Linked DNA regions of Homo sapiens: all the other regions are linked to region 1. The links are contacts of gene promoters, found by promoter capture Hi-C in blood cells and fetal thymus (Javierre and others, 2016). All regions are on one chromosome and are shown on one strand. The core of a region is centred on a gene start or on the middle of the fragment in contact, and the rest is flanking DNA. Distances in the headings are between cores, read along the strand shown.

Region 1 (6,421 bases), core at 2,584-5,083:
CAATTTACGGCCCATTTTCTACCTTTCAGCTTAATTTTTCATGTTTCCATGACGTGATGCGACTCGCTGTTTCCTCAGCTAGGGATGTGAAAGTGAGGACGCAGCCAGAGAAGCTCGAGCAGCATGATGGGCCTGGTGACAATCACGCTAACTTGGAAGGTGGCTCCATCACCTCTACTGTCTGGAGACAGCAAAGAGCAGAAAGCCCACTCCGTGTCCACTGGTGCCTGGAGGAGGCTAACCCAAGGCTGGCACGGCCACCCCCTCTGGACCCATGTCTATCAGAGGGGGTAGGGAAGATGGCAGGGCAGCAAATATCAGGCACAGCCAACACACAAACATCAAAAACTGATTTTTAAAGTTTCTCTAATGATAAAAACAAGGAGTGGTGGTCTCAGACCTTCCACTGGAAGTCGATCACCTGCCTCACTATTATTTAAATAAAAGAACACACTTATGAACACAAATGGAAAATACAACTACGAGAGAAAAAATGACTTGCTTAATATGTAGAAATTAACTGTCTTTGAAAAGAACATGAAGTTTTTATAATTTACATGAAAAAAAGGCAAACAAACCTGGCTAAACGTCGGTTTATTGTGCAACCGAGAGCACCTGTCTCCATGACGACATGCTCCAATTTTGAAATAAAATGAACAGTTGACTCTGTAAGGGAAAATGAGAGCTGATTATTTTGCTGGGAAGATATCAAACACATGGAATATGTCAGCAGCATGACATACACTATCAAATTACTTTTAACCTCACAGAAACATGACACAGACTTTTTTCCGTGGTATTAAGCACCTCCTCTTCCTTGCTGTATTTTAGGACAACGTAACTTCAACTTCCCTTTCTGCAAACACACTACTTGTTCAGCAAAGACGGTTCTAACTCTAACCCGCCTCCTCCTCATTCAAATCCCCTCCACTTTCCTAACTGCACAGCTGTTCTGTTTGTTTCTTAAATGGAGTATTAAATTAGTCTAAAACTAAATGTAACTTAGGCAGTATCTGTTCTCCAGTTCTCCACGACCAAGTTCTCTCTTGAAAACACCGGTGTGGTGAGGGTTAAGATCCCAACTCTGCTACCAGCTGCTTGGGCTTGGGCAAGTCACCCTAGCTCTCAGATGTCATCTGTAAATGATGACAATGCCAATGTGGCACTGTTCTGAGAGTCAGACAGAACGTATGTGTGCTTCACATATGGTGCTCATGAAGTGCTATCATTATCTAAGGAAAACAGAAAACGAAGTTCAGAGTCTCTCTAAACGCATGACACCAGACCAACAGGGAGTTTCAAAAAATAGGTCTGAAGTAAATCAATTCTCCTGGTCTCAATACACTGAAAACAAACTATTAGGGGACTGACCGAACCCACCTTAGGAACCACCTTACGTCACCTTCTGTCTCTACTGCAAAACCCTCCCTTAATACTGTTCAAATACGCTGACAATCCAGATCCATATCCAATGGAACCAGCAATCATGCCTGTGTGCCAGCAATGTCAGGGAGGGAAGCCGATCTCTGATGAATTAGGACATCTTACCAGACAGACTTTGTTCAAAATTCAATTTTTTTTTAACCAAGTGCCATTATGTTTTAAACAGTCAATCCAGAGTTAAGATTGAAGGGCCTCAACCTCAGTGAAATCTAATGGACCATGAAGACTGACTAGCCACTGATTTATTATCAGGTAGCAATAAAGATGGGAAAGTCCAAATTTATCAGGAGAGGAAAGTGATTATATATATTTGCAAACTTACAGGTCTTGAGATTATTTAACTTGATTAGACAATAGCATATCTTTAGGAAGTCATCTAAAAATAAAGAAAGCTTATTTAAAAACTACCTCAGAATGGGCAAGCCCTGGGCCTCAACAATTAATATCCAATTATTCCACACAATTAAACTACAGACAAGCTATTAGGATATCCCTGAATCTAGAAAACATCTATAACTTCAAACATATAATAAGCTAAACATTTTTTAATTGGTAGAGATCTATATTTTATTCTTAGCTTAAATAATAATTAAAGTTAATATGAACCATCAGCTTCATTTTTCAGGAGTTGATCCTGTTCCCTGGAAGCTAAAACCCCACGTCTCCCTGAAAAGAAAACACAAGTAACCTAGATTAAATAATCAACTTTTCTGAATTAAAACCATGACCTTTATAGTATAGCCCAATAGATTGAAATGTGGTTGCTTATAGCAGAAATATAGGGAGATAGACTTTTACAAGACAGAAGTCATGCCACATGCAAATATGAAAAGGAGAAATTAATGATGCCCCGATCCTACATGTGTTAGTTCTTCACCCTAAACTCAGAAGAGTCTCTTGTTCCGATAGAGCTGGTCTATTCATTCGCCAAGATCATACCGTGAGTTCCTTAAGGATAATATCCAAATTTTACCCATGTTTAAGTCTCCAGAAACTGACCTATAGTTGACCCCCACTAAATGTTTCTGGAGTGACTATAACTGGTAGATTTTGGCTTAAAATTTTGCTAGAAATATAGCCTCCTCATCCAAACAACACAGGAGATTCTACCATGTGTGAAGAGGACATTTTACAAGATAGACTCCATCCTGGAAAAGAGAAACATTTTAAATAGCGTTTGAAAAAAGTGGCATTAAAAACATCTATGACAAACTTAGGGGTTTATCATTGAAAACATAAAGTCATGTTAACTTTGTATGGCACTGAAGAATGCCAAGATAACTAAAGAGTAGATTAAGCCAGATGCTGAGTCTTTAGGTTTTCAAAGTAAGAATTATCCTTCAAACGTCTGAAAACATTCCATTTAGTCTAAACTACAGCCAACTCACTGGAAATTAGTACGTGCCAAGGTGGCAATTAAAGCTGAAATTAAATGTTTTGCTTTTAACCTAACGATTGATTAGGGAAGGCATGCAACCTTAAGGAAAAAATCAAAACATCTTTTTCCTTATATCAGAATTGTGTCTTCAAGAACAGTCACCGACTTACAAATTTTCAACTTAGATGATGGGTTTATCGGGGTATTAAAGGCATTTTCGATTCATGATGGGTTTATCGGAACGCAATCCCATGGTAAATCCAGGAGCACCTGTATGTTAAGAGCGGATCACGTCTCTTGTGGTTAGATAGTTAATCCAGTAGTCTCCACCATACTTTTTCTCGTCATATCTCCTTACTGCCGGCCCAGCGGTCGCTTAAACAGGCAAGAGGCTGGCTAAGTGGATAAAACACCAACGCTTAGGACCCTAAGTTAGATAAGCGACTGAATACTGGCGAGGCTGGTACCAGAGCTTGCTCGACAGGACATTCACAGCCGAAAGTTGGAACAAACGTGTCCACGTCCAAAAGGCCCGGATGCTCCAGGCAACTTTCAGCGCGGCTCGAGGCGGCTTCCGGGAGTCGGCGACTCGGAGGCCCGGACGTCGGGCGATCAGCCAGTCCGGACCCCAAGGCCGGAGAAAGCTCGGCCGCGGCGCCCCGAAAAGAGACCCCATTCATTCTGCCCGCTCCAGTTTTCCGCCGCGCGGCCCACGAGGCGGCGGCTCCGGAGGGCGCGCAAGGGGCCGGAAGGGCCACCGCTCCTTCCCGCCGCGCGCCCCTCCCCCGCCACCGCCGCGCCGGCCCGCCTGGGCCTCCCCGGTCGCCCTCCCACCGCCTCAACCACCCTGCGCCCCGATCGCGCCCAACCCCCGGCGGGGGGCTCCCACTCACTTGTCTTTCTCGGTGCCGAAGATGGAGGCCAGATACTCCGCCATTTCCCACCCGCCGCCGCCGCTGCCGTCGACACTGCTGCCGACGCCGCCGACCCTGCCGACGCCCTCGGGAGACGTCACCCGGACGCGACGACGCTCTTCCCCGCCCCGACGTGGCAGCGCTACCCAGTCAGGCGAGGTGCTGCCTGCGCGTGGGCGGGACGCATGCGCGTAGGGAGCACGTAGTGCGCGTGGGAGGCTCCGCCTTTTCGGTCCTGGGAACCCGCGCCCCCTGCCGGTGCCCTCCCCGCCCGGCCCTAGCTCTCTCGCCTTCTCGCCCGCCCGGCGCTGGCCCTGCTGGATCCTGCGCGCCGGGGACTGGGGGCTGGCAGTGCAGACCGAACCCGGGGCCGAGGGGCTTCTCCACAGAGCCGCCTGGGGCTCGGTGGGGGGCGCTCAGCTCGACCCCAGCTAAGGGAGCACTAGGAAGTGCGGGCGTCCCCTTCCCTGCACCCTTGCGGGGCGGGAACCGTCGACCTAGAAGAAAAAAAAAGCTGAGGCAAACTTGATATAAGTAGAGAGGTTATTTGGGCCAAGTTTGAAGATTGCAACCCGGGAGCATAGCTTCAAGTTGCCCTGAACATAGGATTTGCAACAGTGACAAGTGGGTTTATAAAGCTTAAGAGGGGGGCAGTTCTTAAATAGCTCACCAAGAATTTACATGAAAATAACAAGCTATTAATTGGCTGTACGTTGTTCTTTATATCATAATTCCAGGAAAGGAAGTTCATGGGTGAAGGCAGCGGGTCCGGAGCAATAGTGCCTTTAAACAATTGCCAGGCATGGGTGGGGACCGCTGAAGCCGCATAGACCTGTCTCTCCGGGCCGGATTAACCTCGCACGCCTCACATAGCTCGGACGCTCTGTGTTGTTTTTCTCTTCTCACACCCCTCTCCGCTTTACCCTCCCTCAGCGCTTGCCAGGTGCGACCTCCCCGGGGCCCTGCACTCTTGCAGTTGCCTGGCCAAGGCCACCCACAGGTGGAGCTGGAAGGCCAGTGACCTGCCTCTGGGATACCCTTTCAGTCTCCTCATGTCACAAGGCTGGAACCATTCCGTTGGAAGGGTTCTATTCCTCTCCTGCGTTTTAACCCCATCAAGCAGCCATTTTCATCTGGTTTCCCACATTCATCAACTCACCTGCGATTTACCTAATTTCCAACGCAACTATCAACTCTGATTAGGTAGAAGTCAGAGAGACAGGGCCTATTTTACTTACCTCCTCCACAAGATGAGCCCCAGACTGTGGGGCAGGACCATGGGATCCTCTTAGCTCGGCTAGAGCTGAATGCTGAGCTCTAGTGTTTGGGCGGATTTGCGTGTTAGAATTGCATTTCTCTTGGCAACAGAGCATCTTCCTACCTGGGAAAGATGAGCAAACTGGAAACCTGTATTAGAAACAGTAGGGCCTCAGAGGTTTAAACCAAAAAGTATCTTGAGACAGGGCTCAATCAATTTAGAAGTTTATTTTGCCAAGGTTAAGGACAATGCCTGGGAGGAAAAAAAACACGGTATCACAGAAACAGTCTGTGGTCTGTGCCTTTCTCCAAAGATGACTTTGAGGGCTTCAGTATTTAAAGGGGAAAAGTGGGCTGGAGGGGAAAGCGGAACAGTGTGGTAATCCACACGTTGCAAGAGAAAAGAAGCAGGTTGGGAACAGTCGACTGTGTACAGCTCACTCCTCAGCAAATCAGCACTTTACATAAGAGAAGCGGATGTTGAACCTTCTATCTGTAGCCGTCTGCTTAGGAACGAAAGGAAAGGCAGCTGCTTACATGACTCAGCTTTCAGCTCATTCTTTTCCTTTTGACAGAGTGAACTGGGGTCCTGACTTTTGTGTTCCTTTCGCAGAGGTGAGGCCAGAGAAGTGACAAGACAGATGCCAGTCCAGCAGGTGGGCATGTCCAGAAAGTGCAGCCTCAGGACACGGTCTGGGAACAAAGACTGCTGGAGAGTTGGAAGCTGGCAAGAGGCTCTCAGCTGTGAAGTACCTGGGGTGGGGGAGAAGTGGTCGGAGAAAGCAGAGGTAAGGTCTGTGCGTGGGAACTGAACTGAAATCCACAGCTCTATTACAAGGAATTAATCTGGTTACTAGAACCAGGGTAGATGATCAGACCAGGCAGGGCCACCAGTACCATCCACCCATTTTTCCTGAGAAAAGAAAAATAGGGTAGTCTGAGCTCTGTGAGGTGTGCAGAATGATCAGGCCCAGAGAGGCAGGAGTGTGGGACTTCATTCAGCGCCTCTTCCACCATAGAAGCAACTGTCCAGGGCAATTGTTTGATGGAATTTTTGCTCCTGACAGGCTGCCTCACCCATTATCTTCTTGTTCACATGGAATTAGTGATGCTAAGAACGATGCATAGCCAATCAGCACCTTCTGTTATTTTAATGCAAATTCTTGCTAACAACTTAGGGACTGCCTCTTCCTTTTCCTTAAAACCCCACTGTGACTGCTGCTAATGGGAACATATGTTCAGGGCAACCTAGGGGCATGTGCCCAGGGAGCCATCCTCAAGCTTTGGGCTCAAATAAACTCTATACTTAATCATATTTCCTGAATTTCATTATTTGAGGTTGACATTTTGGCAACCCAGATAGGACCTGAAGCAGGCCTTCAGGGATTGCCACTAAGTAGTGGCATCAATAGTTGGAGCCTTGGTACCA
Region 2 (6,421 bases), core at 2,566-5,065, 600 kb after region 1:
GAAAGAAAAAGAAAACAAATACATAAATAGTCAGAATAAATAGCTCTACGAGTTAAAGGTGGTCCCTGTATCAAGAATGAGACATGCAGATGGAGAGCCTGCTGAAGGGAATGCTGTTTTCCATTAAAGATCTTATTATTTTGCTTTAAAAAATTGTTTGCATCATTAGATAGAAAATAAAGTTTAATTGAAAAAAATAAGATTTCTATAAGGAAAACACTAACATAGGGCCAGGCGTGGTGGCTCACGCCTGTAATCCCAGCACTTTGGGAGGCCAAGACGGGTGGATCATCTGAGGTCAGGAGTTCGAGACCAGCCTGGCAGACATGGTGAAACCTTGTCTCTACTAAAAATACAAAAATTAGCCAGGCATGGTGGCACATGCTTGTAATTCCGGCTACTCGGGAGGCTGAGGCAGGAGAATCGCCTGAACCTGGGAGGCGGAGGTTGCAGTGAGCCGAGATCGTGGCACTGCACTCCAGCCTGGGCAACAGAGTGAGACCCTGTATCAAAAAAAAAAAAAAGAAAGAAAGAAAAAACAAACATAAAAACGAATTTGAGGCCAGGTGCAGTGGCTCATGCCTGTAATCCCAGCACTTTGGAAGGCTGAAGCAGGTGGATCACCTAAGGTCAGGAGTTCGAGACCAGCCTGGCCAACGTGGCGAAACCCCATCTCTACTAAAAATACAAAAATTAGCCCAGTGTGGTGACGTACGCCTGTAATCCCAAGCTGCTCAGGATGCTGAGTCAGAAGAATCTCTTGAACCCAGGAGGCAGAGGTTGCAGTGAACCGAGATGGCGCTACTGCACTCCAGCTTGGGCAACAGAGCAAGACTCTGACTCAAAAAAAAAAAAAAAAAAAAGAACTGTTTGCATCATTAGATAAAAAATAAAGCTTAATTGAAAAACAGTATGATTTCTATCATATAAAAGCAAACATAGAAAATGAGTCGTATGGCAAACCACAGCCTTGCTCCCGACATGCCTCACGAGCCCCATATACCCACAGAGGCCAGGAGCAGCCAGACTCACTGGCTTTACAGTTTGGTTTTGTTTGTTTTAACTTTTTTGCAGAGAACGGGGTCTCCCTATGTTGCCCAGGCTGGTCTCGAACTCCTGGGCTCAAGCAATCCTCCCGCCTTGGCCTCGCAAAGTGCTGGGATTACAGACATAAGCCCCGTGCCTGACCGGCTTTATAGTCTTTTTTTTTTTTTTTTAGACGGAGTCTCACTCTCTCACCCAGGCTGGAGTGCAGTGGCGCAATCTAGGCTCACTGCAAGCTCCACCTCCCGGGTTCACACATTCTCCTGCCTCAGCCTCCCAAGTAGCTGGGACTACAGGCGCCCACAACCACGCCTAACTTTTTGTTAAATTAGCACACCATGCTAATTTTTTGTATTTTTTTTTTTTAGTAGAGACGGGGTTTCACCGTGTTAGCCAGGATGGTCTCGAACTCCTGACCTCGTGATCCGCCCGCCTCGGCCTCCCAAAGTGCTGGAATTACAGGCGTGAGCCACCGTGCCTGGCCGACTTTACAGTCTTAAACGGGTTGTTGTGCTCCCTTTTTCTTGGGTGGGGGGGTTTGCACACCTTCAGTTGAATTCGTGCAAGTTAGAAGAGATTCCACCATAGTGAAAAAGTGGTGACTCTACCTAAATGTCCATTAACTGAGAACACAGCTGGCTGAAGACAGCCACAGAATAGTCATATACTGGAGTAAAATGCAGTCACAGGCTGGGCGCGGTGGGTCACACCTGTACTGTCTGCACTTTGGGAGGCCGAGATGCCAGGAGTTCAAGACAGGCTGGGCAGCAGAGTGAGCCCTGTCTGATATAGCTTGGATATTGGTCCCTGCCCAAATCTCATGTTGGAATGTGATCCCTGGTGCTGGAGGTGGGACCTGATGGGAGGTGGAGGTCATGGGGGCGACTCCCTCAAGAATGGCTGGGGCCATCCCCTTGGCGACAACTGAGCTCCCTGCTCTGAGTTCACAGGAGAACTGGGTGTGTAGAAGTGTGTGGCACCCCCACCCCTCACTCTCTTGCTCCTGCTTTTGCCCTGTTGCGGCGCCTGCTCCCTGCTCGCCTCCCACCATGAGTGCGAGCTCCCAAGGCCTCCCCAGAAGCTGATGCCAGAGCCAAGCTTCCTGTGCAGCCTGCAGAACCGTGAGCCAATTAAAGCTCTTTTCTTTATAAATAACCCAGTCTCAGGTATTTCTTTATAGCAATATGAGAACAGTCTAATACACTGTCTCTACAAAGAAAATTACAGAATTAGCTGGGCATGGTGGAGCATGCCTGTAATACTAGCATCTTGGGAGGCCAAAGCAGGAGGATCACTTGAGCCCAGGAAGTTGAGGCTGCAGTGAGCCCTGATGGCACCACTGCACTCCAGCCCAGGTGACAGAGCAGACCCTGTCTCAAAAAAGTAAAATAAAATTAAACGTATTAGCATATGAATATCTCTACTTTATTTTGCTGTTTATTTTTCTTTTTTCAGCAGGTGAGTTGGTGCACACCCTATAGCCGATTCCAGCTGTGTGGTGCCGTCCTGCTGTTATGTGATTATTTACAGGAGAGTTCACTTGGTTCACATCAGGGGTCACTCATGATGGGCCCTTCTCTGGGTCTGTCAAATGCTAATCTCATGTGCAGACCATCACAGTGTCCTTTTCCGGCCCTAAAGCCCGCTGTGCTTCTCATATCCATTTCTTTCCCCCTTGACCATCACAGTGTCACACAAAGTCGTTTTCTGGCCCTAAAGCCCACTGTGCTTCTCCTATCCTTTCCTTTCCCCCTTGTCCTAACCTTCTGACAACACCTGACCATTTTCTTTTTTTGGAGAGAGGGTCTGCTCTGACTCCTAGACTGGAGTGCAGAGGCATGATCTTGGCTCACTGAAACCTCTGCCTCCTGGACTCAAGCAATCCTCCTGCCTTAGCCTTTCTCAAATAGCTAGGTCTACGCTACAGGGGTGTGCCACCACACATGGTTAATTTTTGGGTTTTTTTTGTTTTGTTTTGTTTTGTTTGAGATGGGGCCCCACTATATTGTCCAACCTGGTCTTGAACTCCTGGGCTCAAACATCCACCTGCCTCGGCCTCCCAAAGTGCTGGGATGACAGGCATGAGCCACCGCGCCTGCTGGGATGACGGCATGAGCCACCGCGCCTGCTGGGATGGCGGCATGAGCCACCGTGCCTGCTGGGATAATGGCATGAGCCACCGCGCCTGCTGGGATGACAGGCATGAGCCACCACGCCCAGCCTCCTGACCTTTTAATTATCTCCATAGTTTTACCTTTTCCAGGATGTCACTTGGTTGGAGTCACACAGTAGGCAGACTCTTCAGATCAGTGTCTTTCACTTGGTAATGTGCACCTAACGTTTCCTCACTATCGCTTCATGGCTTGATGGCTCACTCTTTTTCATTGCTGTATAATATTCCATTGCAAATGTACACTACAGTTTGTCTATTCATTCACCTACTGAGAGACACCTTGGTGGCTTCCAGTTTTTGACAATTACTAAAGCTGCTATAAACATTGGTGTGCAGGGTTTTGTGTAGACATAAGTTTTTAACCCTTTGGGTAAAGATCAAGGAGTGCAACTGCTGAATTATAAGGTAAGATGTTTAGTTTCTTTTTTCTTTCTTTCTTTTTTTTTTAATGAGACGGAATTTCACTCGTGCAGTGGCATGATCTCTGCTCATTGCAACCTCTGCCTCCTGGGTCCAAGCGATTCTCCAGCCTCAGCCTCCCGAGTAGCTGGGATTACAGGTGCCTGCCACCATGCCAGGCTAATTTTTGTATTTTTAGTAGAGATGGGGTTTTACCATGTTGGCCAGGCTGGTCTCAAACTCCTGACCTCAGGTGATCCGCCCCCACCTCGGCCTCTCAAAGTGCTGGGATTACAGGCGTGAGCCACCACGCCCGGCCAAGATGTTTACTTTCTAAGAAACCACCAAAGTGCCTTCCAAAGTGGCTACACCATTACAGTGTTCCCACCAGCAATGAAGGAGAGTGCCATGTCCCGCCAGCACCCAGTGTTGTCAGTGTTCTGGACTTCAGCCATTGTAAGCAGTGCTTAGCGATGTTTCATTGTTTGAATTTGTACTTTTCTCATGGCATGGCGTTCAGAACTTTCCATATGTGTATTTGCCATTTGTATATCTTCTTTGGTGAGGTGTCTAGATCTTTTGCCTATTTTTTGGTTAGGTTGTTCCCTTATTGTTGAGTTTTAAGAATTCTTTCGCCAGTTGTGGTGGCTCACACCCGTAATCTGAGCACTTTGGGAGGCCGAGGCAGGCAGATCACTTGAGCTCAGGAGTTTGAGACCAGCTTGGGCGACATGGTGAGACCTCTTCTCTACAAAATAAAAAAAGAGTACAAAAATTAGCCCGGCATGGTGACACACGCCTGTAGTACCCGCTACTCAGGAGGCTAAGGCGGGAGGATCACTTTAGCCCAGGGGACAGAGGTTGCAGTGAGCTGATGTGTGCTACTGTACTGCACTCCAGCCTGGGTGGTAGAGCAAGACCCTATTTAAAAAAAAAAAAAGGAAAAAAGGCTGGGCGCAGTGGCTCATGCCTGTAATCCCAGCACTTTGGGAGGCTGAGGCGGGCGGATTACTTGAGGTCAGGAGTTCGAGACCAGCCTGGCCAACATGATAAAACCCCATCTCTACTAAAAATACAAAAATTAGCCGGGTGTGGTGGCAGGCGCCTGTAATCCCAGCTACTCGGGAGGCCGAGGCAGGAGAATCACTTGAACCTGGGAAGTGGAGGTGTCAGTGGGCCAAGATCACGCCACTGCACTCCAGCCTGGGCAACAGCAAGACGAAAGAGAAAGAGAGAAAGGGAGAAACAGAGGAGAGAAAACAAAGGAAGGAAGGGAAAGAAAGAAAAGAGAGAAGGAAAGAAAGAGAGAGAGAAAGAAAGAGAGGAAAGAAAGAAAGAAATCCTTGTATATTTAGGACTCAAATCCTTTATTGATGTTTTGTACGATTTAAAGATTCCTTTGGTGGTGGGACGCAATACAGTGACACTCAGCTAGAGGAGAGGCAGAAGCCTGTGTATTGATGTTTTATAAGATCTAAAGATTCTTTTGGTGGTGGGACGCAATACAGTGACACTCAGCTAGAGGACAGGCAGAAGCCTGTGTGACTTACAGCTCTAACAAGAGGCCGCCGCCAGGCAGGGTCACACGGGGGATTGTGCCTCGGACGTCAGTGGACTGGACACAGCCCAGGAGAGAATCTGCAAGCTGAGGACATGTCCATAGACTTCCCCAACTGAAATGCAAGGAGAAAAAAGAGTAAAAATAACTGAACAGAATATCCTAGAACTACGGGACAATTATAGAAGGTAATTTACACACTCATAATGGCAATACCAGAAGAGGAGAGGGAGAAAGGGATAGAAGAAATATTTGAAGTAATAATGGCTTCTCATTTTTCAAAATTGGTGTCAGACACCAAACCACAGATCTAGGAAGCTTAGAGAACACTAAGTACAACAAATGCCAAAAAATAGGAACTTTGGCATGTCGTATTCAAACTGCAGGAAACCAGAGACAGAATATCTTGAAAGATGTCGGAGGGAAAGTACCTTCCTATAGAGGAACAAGAATACGGATCACACTGGACTTCCATCAAAAATCATGTGATCTGGGTACTGGAAGCTACATGTAAAGAAGAAATTCATGCTCACGCCTGTAATCCCAGCACTTTGGGAGGCCGAGGCGGGCGGATCACGAGGTCAGGAGATCGAGATCATCCTGGCTAACACGGTGAAACCCCATCTCTACTGAAAATACAAAAAAATTAGCCAGGCGTGGCAGTGGGTGCCTATAGTCTCAGCTACTCGGGAGGCTGAGGCAGGAGAATGGCGTGAACCCGGGAGGCGGAGCTTGCAGTGAGCCGAGATCGTACCACTGGCACTCCAGCCTGGGCGACAGAGACTCGGTCTCAAAAAACAAAACAAAACAAAAACCCAAAAGAAGAGGCACCTGAGCCGCTTGCTTGAGCCTGCTCCCACTCTGAAATGTCTTCAGTAAATCTGTGCTTTCCTTGCTTCTCCTGTTGCTTTCTCTTTCATGGCTTGGCTCTTTTGTTACTTTGTGCATTTTGTTAAAGCATCCCCCGCTAACTAAGACACCGCTCAGGGTCGGGCACAGTGGCTCACACCTATAATCCCAGCACTTTGAGAGGCCGAGGCAGGTGGGTCACCTGAGGTCGGGAGTTCAAGATCAGTCTGACCAACACGGAGACCCCATCTCTACCAAAAATACAAAAAAAAAATTAGCTGGGCGTGGTGGCACATGCCTATAATCCCGGCTACTCAGAAGGTTGAGGCAGGAGAATCACTTGAACCCGGGAGGCGAGGGTTGCGGTGAGCCGAGATCACGCCATTGCACTCCAGCCT
Region 3 (6,421 bases), core at 2,346-4,845, 580 kb after region 1:
AGGCCAAGATGGGAAGATCACTTGAGCCCAGGAGTTTGAGACCAGCTTGGGCAACATAATGAGACCCCCATCTCTAAAACAAAACGAAAAAAAGAAATAGTCTGATTTTAAATTTGGTGTAGATAACAGAGTTGACTAAGGACCTGGAGCAAATTTTATGTGGTCATGGGAGTAGTCTCTGGGTCCCTCCGCTCCCCACATTTCTGTCGCCTAACCTGGACACAGACTCTCTTCCAAGTGCAGTTCCGGACGTTCCCTCCCAGTTGCGTTCATGAAACGTGTGCTGCGCCTGCCCCATCCTCCCCAGGCCTTGCCCTGATGTCGCACCACTAATAAGCTTAGAGGGTTCCAGAAACAGTACACGTTTAAAATAATTTTGAGTTCTCCTGAGTCTGTTTAATCTGCTTCTTCATAGGCTGTAACACTCTGAATTTTTTAAGTGCTAAAAGTTGCATTAATATTGACTTGTGCTTCCTGAAGCATGCTCGTGAAAAGTGACTGTACTGCTGTGACAGGTTCTCACCAAGGTCCTAAACTGACCTGAGACTAGGGCCGGATTCCTGCGTCCATGCTCCTACCCCTGGTGGTCCAGGGCGATGCCGTGTCCCATCCGCTTGCCTGCGTCCCTGGACAGGAGCTTCCCATGCACCGCAGCCTTCGTCCTAACGGGACCACGTGTGGGGGAGGAAATCATCGAAGGCAGCAGGGAATTGGGGTTTTATGGGTACAAAAGGCAAAACATGTGCTTTTTCCCAGACTTACCTTCATTCCCATAGCCTGAACAATCAAAATGTCCTGGGAAATTATAAATGGCTTTGCAGAGTTTTTCTCCTTAAATAAATTTTCTTTCATTTTTTCTTTTTTTGAGACGGAGTCTCGTTGTCGCCCGGGCTGGAGTGCAGTGGCATGATCTTGGCTCACTGCAACCTCTGCCTCCTGGGTTCAAGCGATTCTCATGCCTCAGCCTCCCAAGTAGCTGGGATTACAGGCACCCGCAACCACGCCCAGCTAATTTTTGTATTTTTAGTGGAGACGGGGTTTCGCCATGTTGCCCAGGCTGATCTAGAATTCCTGGCCTCAAGTGATCCACCCACCTCAGCCTCCCAAAGTGCTAGAATTACAGGCGTGAGCCACCGTGCCCAACCTTCTTTTTTGCTAAGAGACACCTAATTAGACAGTGGCTCCTGTGGAAGTAGTCACTTCTGTGTATTTGATATGTCAATAATTTGGTCTTTGGGTATATTTTGACAGCACTGGGCAAAAACCATTCCAGAAAAGATGGACTCAGTGATGAAAGAGGAAGAGATGACTGTGGAACCTTTGAGGACACAGGGCCCCTTCTCCAGGTGGGTAGCAGTTGTTGCTTTTTATAGAATATAGATTTGCTGTGGAGTAGCCTGACTAGAGAATTAGGGTCACAGCTAGTTAAGCTATAAGGCCTGAAGCGTAAACTCCTTTTTAATCCCTTCAGTCACTAAATGTCACCTTCTGAAGAATAACCTTATTGGAGACAAGGAAATGTAAATATGATGGAGTTTTGAAAGAGATAGTAGCACTTATTTTGAATGGCTAAGCTCTCCTCTGTTCTCTACCACAGAGCCAGCTCTAGTGGCACTTTTCAAATAAAAAAAAGTTTGCCAAGTACAGATTGCAAATCTAGATTAAATTTAAAATTTAATTACAAGCTCACGCCTGTAATCCCAGCACTTTGGGAGGCCCAGGCGGGCAGATCACCTGAGGTCAAGAGTTCGAGACCAGCCTGGCCAACACAGTGAAACCCGTCTCTACTAAAAATACAAAAATTAGCCCGACACCGTGGCGCACGCCTGTAATCCCAGCTACTCGGGAGGCTGAGGCAGGAAAATCATTTGAACCCGGGAGGTGGAGGTTGCAGTGAACTGAGATCATGCCACTGCACTCCAGCCTGGGTGACAGACTCTGGCTCAAAAAAAAAAAAAAAAAAGCACACCCAGGTAAATTTTGTTGTGGGTACTCTATCACAATTTTTTTTTTTTAAGAATTGCTTACCCAGCTTTTCCCAAGAATAATTTTTTTTTTTTTTGAGACAGAGTCGCACTCTGTCTCCCAGGCTGGAGTGCGGTGGCTCGATCTCGGCTCACTGCAAGCTCTGCCTCCTGAGTTCACGCCATTCTCCTGCCTCAGCCTCCCGAGTAGCTGGGACTACAGGCGCCCGCCATCACGCCCGGCTAATATTTTGTATTTTTAGTAGAGACGGGGTTTTGCCGTGTTAGCCAGGATGGTCTCGATGTCCTGACCTTGTGATCCACCCGCCTCAGCCTCCCAAAGTGCTGGGATTACAGGCATGAGCCACCGCGCCCGGCCTGAACATGCATTTTTCAAAGGTAGTGCTTGTGCTCCTGGTTGCCAAGTCCCAGCACAAGCTTGTTTAGCCTATCTGTTGCCAAATGCTTCAGTAAGGGTTTCTCTTACTAGCAGATGTAAATGGCCAAGTCAGGCAGTGTTGTTTGGCTGCAGACTTATGTTTAGTTTCTCTTCCTGCCTAGTTTGACTATAAGGCTGTTGCTGATCGACTCCTGGAAATGACCAGCAGGAAGAACACGCCCCACTTCAACAGGAAGCGCCTCTCCAAACTCATCAAGAAGTCAGTAACTGGGGAGAGGGTTCTGACATCATCATTCCTTTAGTTCTCATCTCCTGGTGTGGGACAAGCCATCTGCATGCTTATCTTTTTTCTTTCTTCTTTTTTTGTCCTTTAATGCTTTTGTGTATAGCAATGTAATAGACACATGTAAACTGAAAAGCTTAATGGAAACAGCAGTCCCACCCCTCAGGTTCCATTCTTCCAGTGCAGCCATACTCATCTCTTAGCTGCTTTAGAATGATGTGAAGTCTATTCATGTCTAAAATGAACCAACCAGAAACTGATGTGAATCTGCTATTTAGGTGTCTTCTGCTGGTGTGCTGCTGAGATAGATAGGGTTAATTCTTTACCTCTCCCCTCCCTCCCATATGGCTATGCCAAAAGTGTTAGTTAATTCAGCTGTCAGTGTTGATGTCACTCTGACCATAGTGACATGATGACCTGGAATTCATGGAGGGCCTCGTGTGGCTTGCTGTCATTGGTGACAACAACTGTCTGATCACACTCTAGGAGCCGGGCACTGCTCTGAGCACTTTGTATACATTCAAGTATTCCATGTTAAGCCCCCAGAAAGTAGCTCCTGTAGTTTTGCCCATTTCCCAGCTGGTTCTTAGGGCACAGGATGGTCCTAGCTTGCCTGAGGTCCCTGCCATCCAGTGTCTCCTCCCCCATGCACCTCCCCACACTGCGCTTCGATGCGTCTTGTTTGTTCTAATGCACAAAAATTGTGTGAAGCAAAACATGGCTTCGCCTTTCTCCACTGGAGAATTGAATATGAGAGAGATCTAAGCTATTTCTGCCTTCAGAAACAAAAATTGAATTTCTTAGTTTGATTTGGGTGTGCCAAGATGCATCTTTGGCCCGCCGTGTCCTTGCTGGTATTGATGGTAACCGAGGGCGGCACTGGCCTTGAGCTTTTTGGCTTTTGTATTGCACCACCCTTCCCTCACAGAATTTCCTGTCTAGCCTCCCCTCCTGGAGGAGAACGTGAATTAACAACTATTTAACTATGGCTTGTATTTTAAAAATCAAATACATATGTCTACAGAAGACAGAAGGGATTTCTTTATGAACATTTGTTATTTTTTTATTTTTTATTTTTTATTTTTTTATTTTTAGATTCCAAGACCTTTCTGAAGGTGAGGCGCGCCAAGAATCATCATTCATGGTGTTTTTCGTGAATATGGACCCCACTGGGGGCGTTGATGCCAAACGCTGAGAAACAAGATTGAAAGAACTTTACTGAAAACCTCTGATAAGAAATAATAGTCCCTAGCCCAGGCAAAATAGCAAGGCCACATCTCTACTAAAAATGAAAAAATTAGCCAGGCGTGGTGGCGTGATCCTGTAGTCCCAGTCACTTGGGAGTCTAAGAGGGGAGGATCGCTTGAGCCCAGGAGGTCCAGGATGCAGTAAGTTGTAATCACACCACTGCACTCCAGCCTGGGTGACACAACAAGACCCCAACTTTTAAGAAAGACAGACCAGCCCTTACCTAGTCATACCGCAGTACAGCGTGGGAAGTGATGCAAGCCTAGGGCTCCCTGCAGCCTGCCCACCTTCCTATCCTGGGCTCTCCCTAACCACCAAAGCAAGAGGGCAGACTGCTCTCATGTGTGGGTACTGCGATGTTTTGGTTTGGTTTTTATTATTTTAACTAGATGGATTTTCAATGGCCTAGGAAGGTTTTAATTGGATACTCTATGAAGGTAAAAAATGTAATTTCTCAGGATCCCTTTCATTTGCTCTTATGGTCAATGGTCCCCCCGGGAAAGGCTGATGCTGTAAGCTTTGTTACATTTGGACAAGTCAGTGAAGTTACCCCATACCCGTCATTCACTAGGGACACTTGGAATTGGGAAAGGCACCAGCAAGCTGGTTGGAATGCAGAGACTGCATTAGCCAAGCGTCCGGGGTCCAGCCATGGAGGGTGTCACCGAGGGCTTGTGATCCCTTGCCTTGCCTTGGTTGAGAAATCCACAAAGCTTTTTTAAGTCTGTAATTCCTGTGTCAGCAGCGCTCAGGTTTGGGTGGGAGAAACGGTGAGGAACGATGATGATGAGGCAGAAATTGGGAGGGGTGCTGCTCTTAGGCCCCTGGGGCAGAGTCTTGAGCGCCTGGGGAAGCTAACAGTGTGTCACTCTGGCATCTAGGAAGCAGTATATCTCAACTCAGTTTTGCGGAGGACATTTCTGCTGATGAAGATGACCAAATCCTCAGTCAAGGAAAGCATAAGAAGAAAGGAAATAAACTTTTAGAGAAAACTAACTTGGAAAAGGAGAAAGGTAAGCTGTAAAGCTAAAAAGAAGGGCACGACTCAGCCCTTGGGGAGCGGCATGCACCATGGAGGCCTCGGAGACTTGAGCTCGTGCCGTCATAAAGCATTAGCAGAGCCCAAAGCTTCAGTCTTTAATGGCTGAGAGGTAAAGGCGGTTTTCCAAGTGTTGTGCTGTTTTTGGTGGAGCCGCGTCCCCACCTCACCCCGCTCACGTCCGCCTGCTCTCCAGGGCACCTCTGCAGGGAAGCAGGAGCTGCAGGGAGCACTGGGGGGCGGCTGTTTGATGACCACTCGAGATCTATGGTTTTTACCCTTGAGCCCTAAAATTAGTGGAAATGGGACTATTTCAGTTCCATATGTGTTTATAAACGGACAGAAGGAAGGCTTCCAGTCACAGTTGGGGATGGAGGAAGTGGGACCAGACGACAAAGGTAGTGGGCGCACCAAGTACCTCAAGGGAGACAGGAACTTTCCTCGTGGTAGAATGTCAGGAAATTGCGTCCGCCAGTCATACTGTCTGAGAATCGCCAGCAGGACTCTGGCCCAGCTGGCACTGGGTGCTTGTTGATGGGTTTCTGTCTTTTTAGGAAGCAGAGTCTTTTGTGTAGAGGAAGAGGACAGTGAAAGCAGTCTTCAAAAGAGAAGAAGGAAGAAGAAGAAGAAGCACCACCTGCAGCCTGAAAATCCAGGCCCAGGGGGTGCAGCCCCATCCCTGGAACAGAACCGGGGCAGGGAGCCCGAGGCCTCTGGGCTGAAAGCCCTGAAGGCACGTGTGGCCGAGCCAGGTGCAGAGGCCACGTCCAGCACTGGGGAGGAGAGTGGCTCCGAGCATCCTCCAGCCGTCCCCATGCACAATAAAAGGAAACGGCCACGGAAGAAGAGCCCGAGGGCCCACAGGGAAATGTTGGAATCAGCAGTGTTGCCCCCAGAGGACATGTCTCAGAGTGGCCCGAGTGGCAGTCATCCTCAGGGACCTAGAGGGTCCCCGACAGGTGGAGCCCAACTCCTAAAAAGGAAGCGGAAACTTGGAGTTGTGCCCGTCAATGGCAGTGGCCTGTCCACGCCGGCCTGGCCTCCATTGCAGCAGGAAGGCCCTCCCACAGGCCCCGCAGAGGGGGCGAACAGCCACACCACGCTGCCCCAGCGCAGGAGGCTGCAGAAAAAGAAGGCAGGGCCCGGCAGCCTGGAGCTCTGTGGCCTGCCCAGCCAGAAAACAGCAAGTTTGAAAAAGAGGAAGAAAATGAGAGTGATGTCAAACTTGGTGGAGCACAACGGGGTGCTGGAGTCCGAAGCTGGGCAACCCCAGGCTCTGGTAAGGTGGGAGCACCCACAGGCCAGCTCGCCACAGAGGCACTCACTCGCGTCCATGGGGCTCCACTGCCTCCTGAGAGGAAGGGTGGGGGCTGGCGGCCAGGCCTCTGGACTCAGCAGCAGTTAGAATAGGGTGTGTTCATAACAGCCTTCACTAAGGAGGAAATCACAGGTGACCAGTACTTCGGTCCTCCTCATCGGCCACCTTC
Region 4 (6,421 bases), core at 3,305-5,804, 520 kb after region 1:
AGACTTCCTCAGATAACCCTCCTTGGAATGTAGCAATCTATAAACAGTCAAATCACTGTGGCACACACACTGGTCTTGTATGGAAAATGTTCTAATCCTGCTGGAACTTCTCTGTCTCTGCCTATATCAGTGATATCTTCTTCACTTTGGAACCCTGACCCCACTGGTTTGAAGTTGGTGTTTCTGAGTGGCCACCGTCAAGCTCTGTGCACAAATAAACTCTGTACTTAGTCATATTTTCTGAATCTCGTTAAGGCTGATAAGTCACAGCAATGTATTGAACCATTTCACTGACTTCAGAACAAAGAGCCTCAATACTCACTAGTACATTCCACCTCTTTCTATACCAAGAAATTTTTTTTTTTTTTTTAAGAGACGGAGTCTTGCTCTGTCACCCAGGGTGGAGTGTAGTGGCACGATCTCAGCTCACTACAACCTCCACCTCCCAGGTTCAAGCAATTCTCCTGCCTCAGCCTACTGAGTAGCTGGGATTACAGGTGTGCGCCACCACGCCTGGCTAATTTTTTTGTATTTTAATAAAGACAGGTTTCCCCATGTTGGCCAGGCTGGTCTCGAATTCTTCCTGACTTCAAATGATCCACCCGCCTCAAGCCTCCCAAAATGCTGGGATTACAGGCGTAAGCCACCATGCCTTGCTTCTATACTGAGAAATTATTTAGTTCCTGGACTTTATCCCTTATGATAGTTCTGAGACGGAATTTTATCATAACTCTCAGGGAAAGGTTTACTTTATTATCTTTTAGGAGAATTTTACTGAAGAGGCAATTTAGGTTTTTGGAATTATATAATTATTATACTAAAACAACAGCAAAGAGCTCAGCTTAAGCTTAGCTTAAGGCTTTTACTTTAGCTAGCCAGACAGTAAAATTATGATTCTGAATAAAAGCAGCTAAACTTACTTGTTTTTTTCTGTCAAGGTACATAACTACACAGAACATGCAAACTCATCTGTTTCCTTCAGATCATTCATTCTTAATAACTGATACTTATCAGAATCACCTGGGGTGATTTTCCAAAATAAACATACCCGGTACCTATCCCAGAACTATGGAATCAGATTATCCAGGGTGCTCCCCAGCATTAATATCTGAAAACACTCCTGAGAGATGTTTACACACTCTCAACCCTGACTGTAAACACCAGTCTCTGTAACAGTCACTACAGCTGAAAAGAATTACAGGCACATTTCGTTTTATTGCATTCACTTTATTGTGCTTTGCAGATACTGTTTTTTTACAAATTGAAGGAATGTGGCAACCCTACATTGAGCAAGTCTGTTGGTGCCATTTTTCCAACAGTGTGTGCTTAATTCATGTCTCTGTGTCACATTTTGGTAATTCTTGCAATAGTTGAAACTTTTTCATTATTATTACATCTGTTATGGTCATCTGTGATCAATGATCTTTGATGTTACCACTGTAATTGTTTTAGGGCACCATGAGCCACACCCATGTAAGACAGCAAATTTAATCAATACATGCTACTTATCTTCTGATTTTTCCAATGACTGGCCATTCCCGTTTCTCTCCCTCTCCTAGGAACTTGCTATTCCCTGAGACACAACAATACTGAAATTCGGACAGTTAATAACCCTACAATGACCTCTAAATGTTCAAGCAAAAGGAAAAGATACATATCTGAAAGCAAAAGCTAGAAATGATTAAGCTTAGTGAAGGCATGGCCAAAGCTGAGACCTGCTGAAAGTTAGACCTCTTGTGCCAAACAGCCAAGTTATGACTGCAAATGCAAAGTTCTCGATAGAAATTAAAAGCTCTATTCCAGTGAACACATGAATGATAAGAACGCAAAACAGCCTTATTGCTGATATGGAGAAAGCCCAAGTATTCTAGACAGAAGATCAAAAATCATCAAAAATCCCTTAAGCCAAAGCCTAATTCAGAGAAAAGCCCCAATGCTCTTCAATTCTGTGAAGGCTGACAGGGGTAAGGAAGCTGCAGAAGAAAAGCTGGAAGCTAGTACAGGTTGCTTCATGAGGTTTAAGGAAAGAAGTTGTCTCCATAACATAAAAACAACGTGCAGCAGCAAGTGCTGATGGAGAAGCTGCAGCAAGTTATCCAGAAGATCTAGCTAAGATCACTGCCGAGGGTGGTTACACTAAACAAGAGATTTTCAATGTAGACAAAGTCGCTTTCTATTGGAAGAAGACGCCATCTAGGACTTTCACCGCTAGAGAAAAGTCAATGCCTGGCTTCAAAGCATCAAAAGACAGGCTGACTCTCTTGTTAGGGGCCAATGGTGCGGGTGACTTTAATTGAAGCCAATGCTCATTTAACCATTCTGAAAATCCTAGAGCCCTTAAGAATTATGCTAAATCTACTCTTGCCTATGCTCTAGAAATAGAAAAACAAAGCCTGGATGACAGCACACCTGTTTCCAGCATGGTTTACTGAATATTTTCAGCCCACTGTTGAGACCTACTGCTCAGAAAAAAAGATTTCTTTCAAAACACTACTGTTCATTGACAATGCACCTGGTCAATCAAGAGCCATGATGGAGAGGTACAAGGAAAGTAATGTTGACTCCATGCCTGCTAATACAATACCTATTCTTCAGCTCATATATCAAAAAGAAATTTCAACTTTCAAGTCCTATTTTTTTTAAGAACTACATTTCATAACGCTACAGCTGCCATAGACAGTGATTCCTCTGATGGATCTGGGTGAAGTAAACTGAAAACCTTCTAAAAAGGATTCACCATTCTAGATGCCATTAAGAATATTCATGATTCAGCCAAGCGCAGTGGCTCATGCCTATAATCCCAGCACTTTGGGAGGCTGAGGTGGGCAGATCACCTGAGGTCAGGAGTTCAAGACCAGCCTGGCCAACATGGAGAAACCCCATCTCTACTAAAAATACAAAATTAGCTGGGCATGGTGGCGCATGCCTGTAATCCCAGCTACTTGGGAGGCTGAGGCAGGAGAATCACTTAAATACAGGATGTGGAGGCTGCAGTGAGCCGAGATCACGCCGTTGCACTCCAGCCTGGGCAACAAGAGAATATTCATGATTCATGGGAGGAGGTCAAAATAACAACATTAACAGGAGTTCGGAAGAAGTTGATTTCAATCCTCATGGATGACTTTGAAGGGTTCATGACTTCAGTGGAGTAAGTAACTACAGACGTGGTGGCAGAAAAAAAGGATAAGTTGCTTCTTATGGAAGAACAAAGAAAGTGGTTTCTTGAGATGGAATCTACTCTTGGTGAAGATGCTAAGACATTGTTGAAATAAGAACAAGAGATTCAGAATATTACATAAACTTAGTTGACAAAGCAGCAGTAAGGTTTGAGAGGGCTGACTCCAATTTTGAAAGATGTTCTACTGTGGAAAAAATGCTATCAAACAGCATCACATGCTACTGAGAAATCTTACATGAAAGGAAGAATTAATCAATGTGGCAAACTTCATTGTTCCTTATTTTAAGAAATTGGCACAGCCACCCCAACCTTCAGTAACTACCACCCTGATCAGTTAGCAGTCATCAATATCACGGCAAGACCCTCTACCAGCAAAAAATTGTAACTTGCTGAAGGCTCAGATGATCATTAGCATTTTTAGCAATAATGAATTTTCTAATTAAAGTTTGTACATTTTTTAGACATAATGCTATTGTACATACAACAGACTACAGTATAGTGTAAACATAATTTGTATATGCACTGGGAAACCAAAAACATTCATGTGACTCATGTATTATTGCAGTATTTGCTTTACTGCAGTGGTCTGGAAGCAAACAGGCAACATCTCTCAGGTGCGCCTGCACTTACTCGTGACAATTCCAGCCAGAGCGAAAACAAACTGACTTTCATCCGAATCCAGCTCCTGGACATCACCGTCTAACGACTTCACAAAACTCTCCATTGTTTGACCAGTGATGCTGAAAAACTTCAAAGCTTTATCCTGAAAGTTTGAAAATCAGAGTGTCATATCTTTTTACAGACACTAGTGTGAAAACATTTTAAAAGTGCAGGATACAGAAGATTCTAGTTTTAATTGTAGAATATTGTAAAATCTATTCCCTCATTAAAAGTTCCCATTAAAAGAACAGAGAAAGCAGCTTGAGGCATGCAGGAGCAACAAAAACTACCCTGAAGATTGGTGGACTCTTCACACGCATAAATATGATATAGGACAAATGTACATGATGATGAAAGTAAATGGGAAGAATTCACTCAAAATGTAATAAAAATATACTAGAAAAACATGCTGCCTATTTGCTCTGGGCATTAAACCAGAGGTGTTCAAACCTTTAGCATAACTTTTTTCAAAAAAAAAAATCTTAATGAAAACATGTAAAAGAGGTAAAGACTGGCTCCTCTGGTAGTTTAAATCTTCATCACTTGGCAAAAAGCATTTCCAAGTTTGAACCTTTGAGTTACTTCCTTTGGGGTGCTAGAGTTCTGAAGAAGAATTTTAAAACCAATGTACATTTTAACCCAGTTAAAAAATTGGAAATATTTGCATTTACAAATGATATAAGAAAACTTCATGGATGATCAAATAATCTAAAACTGGGTTGTGGTGATGGTTAATGCAACTCTAAAAATTTGCTAAAAACCACTAAATTGTACATTTACAATCTTACAGTATGTAAATTAAACCTAATAAAGCTCAACAAACTTTTAAAAACACATTTAGTCTTTCCACCTAAAGTCAAACACAACTGTTATTTCTATTAGCAGTAACTAATTTCTCACTGGTTTCCTGCCACACGTCCCCCTCTTCACCTTCATTTCCAGTCATGATCACGCCATGCTCCCAGAGTCAAACACCGATCTTTTTTGGCTCCTCTTGTCCCCTCCAGGTGCCCACTCTGCCCGGCCATCGCATCTGCCTCAACTGCCACAGCTCTCATACATGTTCCTTCTTTCCCATCTCCCCTGCAGAGGGCCGAGCTCACTCCAGCCAGACCAGCTAGAATGACCACCTCATCAGTCATCCTGTGTAGACGCGATGTGCCACAACTCCACCTCCTAATCCATCCTCACCCACTGTCAGGTGAATCTTTCTAAAATTCTGCTCTTATCCTATCACTTTTATTGAAAAACCCTTAGGGAAAATCCAGTCTTCCCACCTACAGAATGAATCACCAACCTGGTATTCAAGGTCCCAAAGTCACATCCCAACCTACGTTTAAGCTTTACCTCCCCACTACTCTATGACATTAACTCTCCACTGTGTCAACTGACCTACTCACTGTCCTAAAACAAACCCACCCATTTTCTGCCATTTCTACCTATTCATCAAGGCCCATTTCAAATTTATCCCCTTCTGTGAAGTTCCCTGACAAATGCCTGCACGCATGCATACATGTGCGTGTGCACGCTCCCACACACACACATGCTCCCACACACCCACACGCTCCCACACACACGATCCCACATACACAGGCTCACAGGCACACACACTCCCCCCCCACACACGCTCCCCACACACACACTCCCACACACACAGGCTCCCACATACACACACATGCTCCCACACACACACACGCTCCCCCCCCACACACGCTCCCACATACACACGCTCCCACACACACACACGCTCTCCCCACACACACGCTCCCCCAAACACACACACGCTCCCACACACACACTCACACAGTCTCACACACACACGCTCCCCCACACACACACATGCTCCCCCACACAAACACACATACGATCCCACATACACAGGCTCACACACACACACACACACTCCCCCACACACACGCTCCCCCCACACACACACACAGGCTCCCACATACACACACACGCTCCCACACACACACTCCCCCACACACACATGCTCCCATACACACACGCTCCCACACACACACGCTCCCCCCCCACACACACACACTCCCCCACACACACATGCTCCCACACACACACACAGTCACACACACATGCACATGCTCAAACACACATGCTCACACACACACGCTGCCACACACACACACAGTTGAACCTTGAAAACAAGGGTTTGAACTGCACAGGTCCACTTACACAAGAATTTTCTTCAGTAAAAGTTACACCAAGTGTGTCTGCTGCTCCAGCCTCCCCTTCCACCTCCTCCACCTCTACCACCCTTTAGACAGCAATGCCAACCCAACCACTCCTCTTCCTCCTCCTCTTCAGCCTACTCAATTTGAAGATGATGAGGGGGAAGACCTTCATGATGATCTAACATACAAAAAATGTGTTAATCAACGATTTATGTTGTCAGTAAGGCTTCCAGCCAACAGTAGAGAGAGTCAAAAGTTCTATGTGGCTTTTCGACTGTGCAGGGGGTCAGCGCCTCCAACCTCCATGTTGCTCAAGGTTCTGCATCTATATGTATGTGTGTGTGTGTGTATGTATAAACACACACACACATCTACATACATGTATATATGT

What was found. Contacts are between HindIII fragments. The CHiCAGO score rates a contact against its expected background, and 5 or more counts as called.
Region 2: a fragment that was not itself captured here is called in contact with the fragment with the promoter of U2AF1 in region 1 in 1 of 17 cell types (M1 macrophages); the score reaches 5.3 in M1 macrophages.
Region 3: a fragment that was not itself captured here is called in contact with the fragment with the promoter of U2AF1 in region 1 in 1 of 17 cell types (M1 macrophages); the score reaches 5.5 in M1 macrophages.
Region 4: a fragment that was not itself captured here is called in contact with the fragment with the promoter of U2AF1 in region 1 in 1 of 17 cell types (M2 macrophages); the score reaches 5.1 in M2 macrophages.

The regions. Positions count from the first base shown.
Region 1 is chr21:43,103,737-43,110,157 of GRCh38, forward strand. It overlaps U2AF1 (U2 small nuclear RNA auxiliary factor 1), which reads right to left and starts at 3,834. Exons shown (of 8, transcript NM_006758.3): 1 at 3,715-3,834; 2 at 579-666. The coding sequence starts at 3,758. It overlaps LOC101928369 (a long non-coding RNA gene), which reads left to right and starts at 3,954. Exons shown (of 5, transcript XR_937770.3): 1 at 3,954-4,359; 2 at 5,606-5,780. The HindIII fragment of the contact is 2,538 bases long and covers 1,834-4,371 here.
Region 2 is chr21:43,705,750-43,712,170 of GRCh38, forward strand. It overlaps LOC124905031 (a long non-coding RNA gene), which reads right to left. Exons shown (of 2, transcript XR_007067895.1): 1 at 5,606-6,421; 2 at 4,967-5,289. Among named protein-coding and RNA genes, the nearest start is that of PDXK, 10 kb to the right of the region's middle. RefSeq lists enhancers at 1,479-2,012, 5,392-6,273, 6,339-6,421. The HindIII fragment of the contact is 3,350 bases long and covers 2,141-5,490 here.
Region 3 is chr21:43,682,028-43,688,448 of GRCh38, forward strand. It overlaps RRP1B (ribosomal RNA processing 1B), which reads left to right. Exons shown (of 16, transcript NM_015056.3): 9 at 1,252-1,346; 10 at 2,526-2,623; 11 at 3,743-3,762; 12 at 4,777-4,908; 13 at 5,489-6,213. Among named protein-coding and RNA genes, the nearest start is that of RRP1B, 26 kb to the left of the region's middle. RefSeq lists a silencer at 6,089-6,218. The HindIII fragment of the contact is 1,629 bases long and covers 2,782-4,410 here.
Region 4 is chr21:43,626,514-43,632,934 of GRCh38, forward strand. HSF2BP (heat shock transcription factor 2 binding protein) reads right to left here. Exons shown (of 9, transcript NM_007031.2): 6 at 3,809-3,941. Among named protein-coding and RNA genes, the nearest start is that of MIR6070, 20 kb to the left of the region's middle. The HindIII fragment of the contact is 1,245 bases long and covers 3,933-5,177 here.